2 separate regions of the Homo sapiens genome follow, and region 1 is linked to region 2. The links are contacts of gene promoters, found by promoter capture Hi-C in blood cells and fetal thymus (Javierre and others, 2016). All regions are on one chromosome and are shown on one strand. The core of a region is centred on a gene start or on the middle of the fragment in contact, and the rest is flanking DNA. Distances in the headings are between cores, read along the strand shown.

What was found. The method cuts DNA at HindIII sites, captures the fragments that hold promoters and counts their contacts. A CHiCAGO score of 5 or more calls a contact.
Region 1: the fragment with the promoter of FARSA here is called in contact with the fragment with the promoter of KLF1 in region 2 in 3 of 17 cell types (erythroblasts, megakaryocytes and M1 macrophages); the score reaches 8.0 in erythroblasts.

The regions. Positions count from the first base shown.
Region 1 is chr19:12,931,671-12,935,245 of GRCh38, reverse strand. FARSA (phenylalanyl-tRNA synthetase subunit alpha) reads left to right here and starts at 1,535. Exons shown (of 13, transcript NM_004461.3): 1 at 1,535-1,696. The coding sequence starts at 1,550. FARSA-AS1 (FARSA antisense RNA 1) reads right to left here. Exons shown (of 3, transcript NR_149078.1): 2 at 2,209-2,276; 3 at 1,950-2,097. RefSeq lists a silencer at 195-300 and enhancers at 1,337-1,631, 1,353-1,852, 1,863-1,932. The HindIII fragment of the contact is 14,863 bases long and covers 1-2,382 here.
Region 2 is chr19:12,885,535-12,889,477 of GRCh38, reverse strand. It overlaps KLF1 (KLF transcription factor 1), which reads left to right and starts at 2,277. Exons shown (of 3, transcript NM_006563.5): 1 at 2,277-2,424; 2 at 3,336-3,943. The coding sequence starts at 2,338. RefSeq lists cis regulatory regions at 87-587, 1,547-3,387, enhancers at 1,635-1,973, 2,082-2,422, 2,986-3,247, a promoter at 1,325-2,343 and a silencer at 3,595-3,854. The HindIII fragment of the contact is 12,769 bases long and covers 1-3,943 here.

The DNA of each region.
Region 1 (3,575 bases), core at 286-2,785, 47 kb before region 2:
ACTGACCATTTGAAATGTGGTTGGTCCGAACTGAGATGTGTTGTAAGTGTAAAATACGCATCAGATTTTGAAGATTTAGTATGAAAAAAAGTGCAATTTTTTTTTTTTTGAGACGGAGTTTCGCCTTGTCACCCAGGCTGGAGTGCAATGACACGATCTCGGCTCACCACAACCTCTGCCTCCCAGGTTCAAGCGACTCTCCTGCCTCAGCCTCCCAAGTAGCTGAGATTACAGGCATGCGCCACCACGCCCTGCTAATTTTGTATTTTTAGTAGAGACGGGGTTTCTCCATGTTGGTCAGGCTGGTCTCAAACTCCCGACCTCAGGTGATCCACCCGCCTCGGCCTCCCAAAGTGCTGGGATTACAGAGGTGAGCCACTGTGCCCGGCCGAGTGCAAAATATTTTATTAGTCATCTTTTTTTTTGTAAGAGTCAGGGTCTGGCTGGCTGGGCGAGGTGGGTCATGCCTCTAATGCCAGCATTTTGGGAGACCGATGCAGGAGGATAACCTGAGCCTAGGAGTTTGAGACCAGCCTGGGCAACATGGCCAAAACCCATACTTAAAAAAAAAAAAAAAGCTGGGTGTGGTGGCGCGCACCTGCAGTTCCAGCTACTCAGGAGCCTAAGGTTGGAGGATCCTTAGAGCCTGGGAAGTCAAGGCTGCAGTAAGCCATAATTGCACCACTGCACTCCAGCATGGGTGACAGAGCAAGACCCTGTCTCAAAAAAGAAAGATGTTTTGCACTGTGTTTCTATAGGACAGTGCTAATCTAGGCCATGCAGTATTTGCACTGACGTTACTCTCAGCGCACAGGGGTGGGAGGATCTGGAAGGTTTATAATTTATGACTTCATTTCCACCAACTCTCTGTAGAACCTTGGGCAAGTCATACCACCCTCTGAGCCTCAGTTTTCTCACATGTGTAATGCGGTTATATCAGTATCTACATCATAAAGTTTTGGGGATAAATGAAATACTACACGTGAAGTACTCAGTTCTGGGCTAAGTACTACCACATACGAGGTAGTCCACACAGGTTAGGTGCCACCTTGACTTACTAGGTGAATTCCTTTTCCCTCTATAAAAAGGGACGGTACCTACCCAGCCTTCCTTTGAAATTTTAAAAGTAGCTGACATCGCCAAAATGACCATCTCTGGAGCCCACCACCCACCGCCTCTCCTAGGGCAAGAGAGAATACCAGAAGGGCAGAGGGTTCTGTAACCCAGAGACGGGGAAGTCCAAGGTCACACAGCCCGCTCGAAGTGAGGCTAGATAAAACTCAAAACAGGGCGGTGCTTCTGACCTTGAGATAATCAATTTTACCCCTCTGGTCAACCAGACGCCATTGATGGAGCCAGGGTGGAGGTGGGAACTGAGTCCCATGCACCTTTTGCGGCTCCGTCGCCACACTCAAGATGACGACACATTGAGCCCTGTTCTACAGTTAGACACATTCAAGATGGCGGTACACACTCCGGTTCCGGTTCCGGTGGCTCAGCTCCCCCCGCCCACCCGGGCCCGGACACGCTGAGCACACTGGAAGGAGTCATGGCGGATGGTCAGGTGGCGGAACTGCTGCTCCGGCGGCTGGAGGCGTCTGATGGCGGCCTGGACAGCGCCGAGTTGGCGGCTGAGCTGGGCATGGAGCACCAGGCGGTGGTGGGCGCCGTGAAGAGCCTTCAGGCGCTGGGCGAGGTGAGCCGGGCCCGTGATGCCGGACCGCCTTGCCCTTGCACCTACAGTCCCCTTGCCACGGGCGCTCTACGTCCAAGCCAAATTCCCTCAGGCCTAGTTTGGGGTAGCTGTATATGTGTCCACTCCGGGATGTGCGGGCGGGAAGTGGGACGAGTGAGGGCCCAGACGCACGGATGTTCCTCATGCAATAAACGTTTATTGAGGCACGGTCAGCGTGGGTAGAGGGTACGATGATGGACGAGGAAGTCGCGGTTGCTGCCCTCACGCAGGTTGCGACGTAATAGGAAGGTGCTTCAAGAACCAGAGTGATGGGGGAAAACAGGGGACCCAGCTGTGACAGCTGACCCAGCCTTGGGGGTCAGGGAGAGCGGCCTGGTGCAGGTGACGGCTGAGTCTGTTCTCTGTTGAGGAAAGTGATAGCACTTTAGAGATCAGTGGCCGGGATCTTGGGGGATGGCAGGCGGCAAGGGAGACCAGCATAGCTGTAATTGCAAAGCCTCTTAGGTCTTTACCTCATGAGGGAACTGGGAAGCGATAGCAGGAGCTAGAGCCGGTCAGATGAGTGTGCTATCCACATCACCTTTGGGAAGAATTGGCATGGACAGGACTGGAGGTGAAGGGATGAAAGAAGAAGCTGGCACTTCCCCAAGCTGGAGGGCATGATGTCTGGCTATGGGAAGGAAGCTTGGGGGAGGTGGGGAAGGCGTGGGATTCAGGACAAGGCAGGGGGCGCACAGATGAAGTCCAGCCTTCTGACTTGGGCAAGTGGACAGTGACAGAGTCACAGGCGTAGGATGCTGAGGGGCCCGTGGGCCACCCAGAAGGCTAGATCCATGGGGCCAGGATCTGGGCTGTTTATCCGTAGAGCTCATGTTCTGTGCCCCACTTTGGTCTCAGCTTGTTTGTCCAATCCATTCCATAATCCTGGCTGATGGCCATGTTATTCCCATTTTGCAGATGTGACAACTGATGGTCAGTAACATAATCAGTGTGAATAGAAGAGGCCGATGAGCCCAGATTTGAAATTAGGCACTCAGGCTGCAGAGCCCATAGTCCTCAATGCAGAGGAGAGATGGCAGCTGTGTTGTGTGGGGTGACAGTGCCTTGACCAATATGATCTGACATTTGTATACGTCACAGAGGGTTAAATAATATAAGGAGGTGAGGTTCAATCTAATGACAGTAATAGCCATAAAAATAATTATAGTAATTAGAATTTATGCCGGGTGCAGTGGTCACACCTGTAATCCCAGCACTTTGGGAGACCAAGGCGGGTGGATCACGAGGTCAGGAGTTCAAGACCAGCCTGGCCAAGATGATGAAACCCTGTCTCTACTAAAAATACAAAAAAAAATTAGCCAGGCGTGTTGGTGGGCACCCGTAATCCCAGCTACTTGGGAGGCTGAGGCAGAGAATTGTTTGAATCGGGAGGTGGAGGTTGCAGTGAGCCGAGATCGCACTCCAGCCTGGGCGACAGAGCGAGACTCCGTCTCAAAAAAAAAAAAAAAAAAAATTTATGCAGTGTTTGTCACGTGGTAGGCACTATATATTCTTTCTGAGTATTAATTTAGCTACTCCTTAAAATCATCTGAGGTAGAACCCATCACACCTTTCTCTTATGGATGAGAAGAGTCACTGAGAGGTTAAGCAACTTTCCTGAGGTCACACAGTAAGTGAAGGGCAGAGTTGGGATTAGAATGAAGTGGGAGCCAGGCCCTGTGCACTCTACTTACCCTTGTTGTCCTTGTCTTCATGACTCTGGACCTGGAACCTCAGTTTTTGTTTGTAATGTGGACCTCCAGGGCCCGTCTCTGACATTCTGGGCACTGACATGTGAACATTTAAACATGGAGACAGGCTGGGTATGGTGGCTCATGCC
Region 2 (3,943 bases), core at 1,028-3,527:
AATCATGCCACTGCACTCCAGCCTGGGTGACAGAGAGAGACACTATCTAAAAAAAAAAAGTTCTGTGACAATGTATCTGACTCCCCATGTGTGTCTGCTCAATTACGGCTAAATTGTGTCAGTAGGATTGTATAACTGTGTGCCTGCCTGTGGATTATGAATTCTGTGTTTTAGAGATTGTTTGGCTATGACATTGTGTAACCAATATAGCATAGGGTTGTGTTTTAGTGCCTGGGAATTGTATGTCTGTGCATAGTCCATATACATAGACAGACACACAATTATATGTGCACGGATTATATGATCAGTGTGACTGAGGGAACAGGAACTCATGTCATTATGTAATTGCATGGTCCTGTGAGTAACTGTGTTTTTGTTTTTGTTTTTAGAGATGGGATCTCGCTATGTTGCCCAAGCTGGTCTTGAACTCCTGGGCTCGAGCATTCCTCCTACCTTGGCCTCCCAAAGTGCTGGGACTGCAGGCATGAGCCACTACTCACTGCTCCAAGCCTGTTTTGTTTTTGTTTTTTAGAGACAGAATCTCACTCTGTAGCCCAGGCTGGAGTGCAGTGGCATGATCTTGGCTCACTGCAACCTCTGCCTCCCAGGCTCAAGTGATTCTTGTGCCTCAGCCTCCCGGGTACCTGGGATTAGAGGTGTATGCCACCATCCCCGGCCTATTTTTATATTTTTAGTAGACAGGGTTTCACTGTGTTGGCCAGGTTTGTCTCGAACTCCTGGCCTCAGGTGATCTGCCTGCCTCGGCCTCCCAAAGTGCTGGGATTACTAGCGTGAGCTACTGCGCCTGGCCCCATGCCTCCAAGTTTCAACCAGTTCTCCAGCTCAGCCTCCCAAATAGCTGGGATTACAAGCATGTGCCACAATGCCCAGCTAATTTTTGTATTTTTAGCAGAGAGAGGGCTTCATCCTGTTGGCCAGTCTGGTCTCGAACTCCTGACCTCAAGTGATCTCCCCACCTTGGCTTCCCAAAGTGCTGGGGTTACAGGTGTGAACCACCGCACCTGGCCTTGTTTTTGTTTGTGTCACCCAGGTTGATCTGCCAGGAATAAAGATGGCCACCCAACTTTTTTTTTTTTCCAGCGACAGAGTCTTGCTTTCTGTGCCCCAGGCTGGACTGCAGTGGTGTGATTATAGTTCAGTGCAGTCCCGACCTCCTGGGCTCAGGCAATCCTCCCACCTCAGCCTCCTGAGTAGCTGGGACTATGGGCATGCACCACCACTCACAGCTTTTTGTTGGAGAGATAGGTTTTATGTTGCCCAGGCTGGTCTTGAAATCCTGGTGTCAAGTGATCCTCCTGCCTCAGTCTTCCAATGAGTGACTATGAGTTATGTGTCTGTAATACGTATCCATGTCCCCTTCCCAGGCTCCCAGGGCACCAGAGTGGAGGTTCCTGTTGTAGAAACTCAGATCCTCTCCTCATGTTGGGCAGAATCAAGGAGCAGCCAGGCCCAGAGCCAGGGCACTGGTCTCCTGCAGGTCAGGTACTGCCTGTGGCTTGATCCAACGGTCCTATCCCACCCAGGAGGAGAGAGGGTCACTTTTCCCTTGGCTGCCCCCATCGCACTAAAGCAGCTGGCACTGAACCAGCCTCCATGCAGTCCCATGCAGTGCCACCCAAGGGTCCCCAGTAGACAATGGTGGGCCAGTTGTCAGGGGCTTCCTCCTGCTGCAGGGCTGAGACCCTGGGAGGTCCCAACCCAGGCAAATTGAACGCCAGGCTAATTTGAAGACCCAACTCCCAGCCCTCCCCTTCACCGGAGGACAGAGCTCTAGCTGGCCTGGGCCCCCACCTGATAGCAGCCTCCAACGTCTGGGGTGTCTGATAATGCTTGGCGGGGAGCTCGTGCCAAGTCCCGCCATCAGCACGGTTGTTGCTGTTTACTGGGGAGGGGGAGGGCTGTGGAGCCTCAATCAGGGGGACAGGGGGTCCCACAGCTTCTTCCCAGAATACCCTTTCTGCCTTTTCCAGGAAAGTTAACTGAGGGAAGACCCCCAAGTCTCTCCTTCTTTGGAGACCCAATGTCTGTTTTTACCCAGCACCTGGACCCTCAAACCCTGAACCCCCCAACCCTTGATATTTGACTTGGCTTTGGACACAGGGTTAGTCTTTAACCCCAGCCCCAGACAGGCCAACGTGAAGTTTGTGCCCCAGAAACAGTGCCCCCCCGCCGCCTTGCCTTGCTTTGCCTTATCAGAGGCTGCAGCCAATCAGCTAAGGACAGAGAGGAGCCCTCGAAGGGGCTATCACAGCCTCAGAGTTCACGAGGCAGCCGAGGAAGAGGAGGCTTGAGGCCCAGGGTGGGCACCAGCCAGCCATGGCCACAGCCGAGACCGCCTTGCCCTCCATCAGCACACTGACCGCCCTGGGCCCCTTCCCGGACACACAGGATGACTTCCTCAAGGTGGGGCCTAGAAGGTGGGGTCTAGGTGGGCTGGCTGGAATCCAGGGCCACAGTCACAGATCTTGGGGTCCAGACCTGCATCTTGACCTGAAATCAAGAGACTTAACCAGGACTGAGGTACGCTCAGTCCAGGAGAGGAGATCTCAGCTTAGTCTGGCAGGGGGTGAGGAGGGTGGTCTAGGGGTTTGAGGTTCTAAGTGTGATCTATTTCGGTAATAGAAAACGAAGGTAGCCTGGGCAACATGGTGAAACCCTATCTCTACAAAAAATACCAAAAACATTAGGCCAGGCATGGGGGCGTGTGCCTGTAGTCCCAGGTACTCCGTAGGCTGATGCAGGAGGATCATTAGAGCCCAGGAGATTAAGGATACAGTGAGCTGCACCACTGCACTCCAGCCTGGGCAAAAGAGTAAGACCCTATCTCAAGAAAAAAAAAAAAAAAAAGGAACGAGATCTAGGCTCACAGACAATCTTCCAGATATCAGCGGGAAATGATGAGTGTGTCTGGGGGACATCCAAAATTTCGGAATTAATCTTGTTTTGGGAGACAGGGAAGGAGAGGGATGTTCTGGGGGAAAACTAAGTCAAGGCTGGCATCCTCTCCCCCGTCCCCTGCCAGTTTTCCATCTCCAGCAGCTCTGCTACCCCTTCCCCCATCCCCGAGTGTGGTTCCAGATAGTGGAAGTCTTATCTCCTGTCTCCAGCCAGACCTGATCGGTTTCTGTCCCTGGAGCTGGGGGGGGAGCGGGGAGAGGGGCGGTTAGAGGGGCAGTGTTGGGGAAGTGGGACAGACAGACAGGCAAACAAGACCCCTTTCCAAAGCCTCTGCGTCAGAGTGTCCAGCCCGCGATGTCCCTGGGCAGGGCACCCCAGTGTCCACCGAACCTCGAGCTGCCTGCTCCCTCCCGCAGTGGTGGCGCTCCGAAGAGGCGCAGGACATGGGCCCGGGTCCTCCTGACCCCACGGAGCCGCCCCTCCACGTGAAGTCTGAGGACCAGCCCGGGGAGGAAGAGGACGATGAGAGGGGCGCGGACGCCACCTGGGACCTGGATCTCCTCCTCACCAACTTCTCGGGCCCGGAGCCCGGTGGCGCGCCCCAGACCTGCGCTCTGGCGCCCAGCGAGGCCTCCGGGGCGCAATATCCGCCGCCGCCCGAGACTCTGGGCGCATATGCTGGCGGCCCGGGGCTGGTGGCTGGGCTTTTGGGTTCGGAGGATCACTCGGGTTGGGTGCGCCCTGCCCTGCGAGCCCGGGCTCCCGACGCCTTCGTGGGCCCAGCCCTGGCTCCAGCCCCGGCCCCCGAGCCCAAGGCGCTGGCGCTGCAACCGGTGTACCCGGGGCCCGGCGCCGGCTCCTCGGGTGGCTACTTCCCGCGGACCGGGCTTTCAGTGCCTGCGGCGTCGGGCGCCCCCTACGGGCTACTGTCCGGGTACCCCGCGATGTACCCGGCGCCTCAGTACCAAGGGCACTTCCAGCTCTTCCGCGGGCTCCAGGGACCCGCGCCCGGTCCCGCCACGTC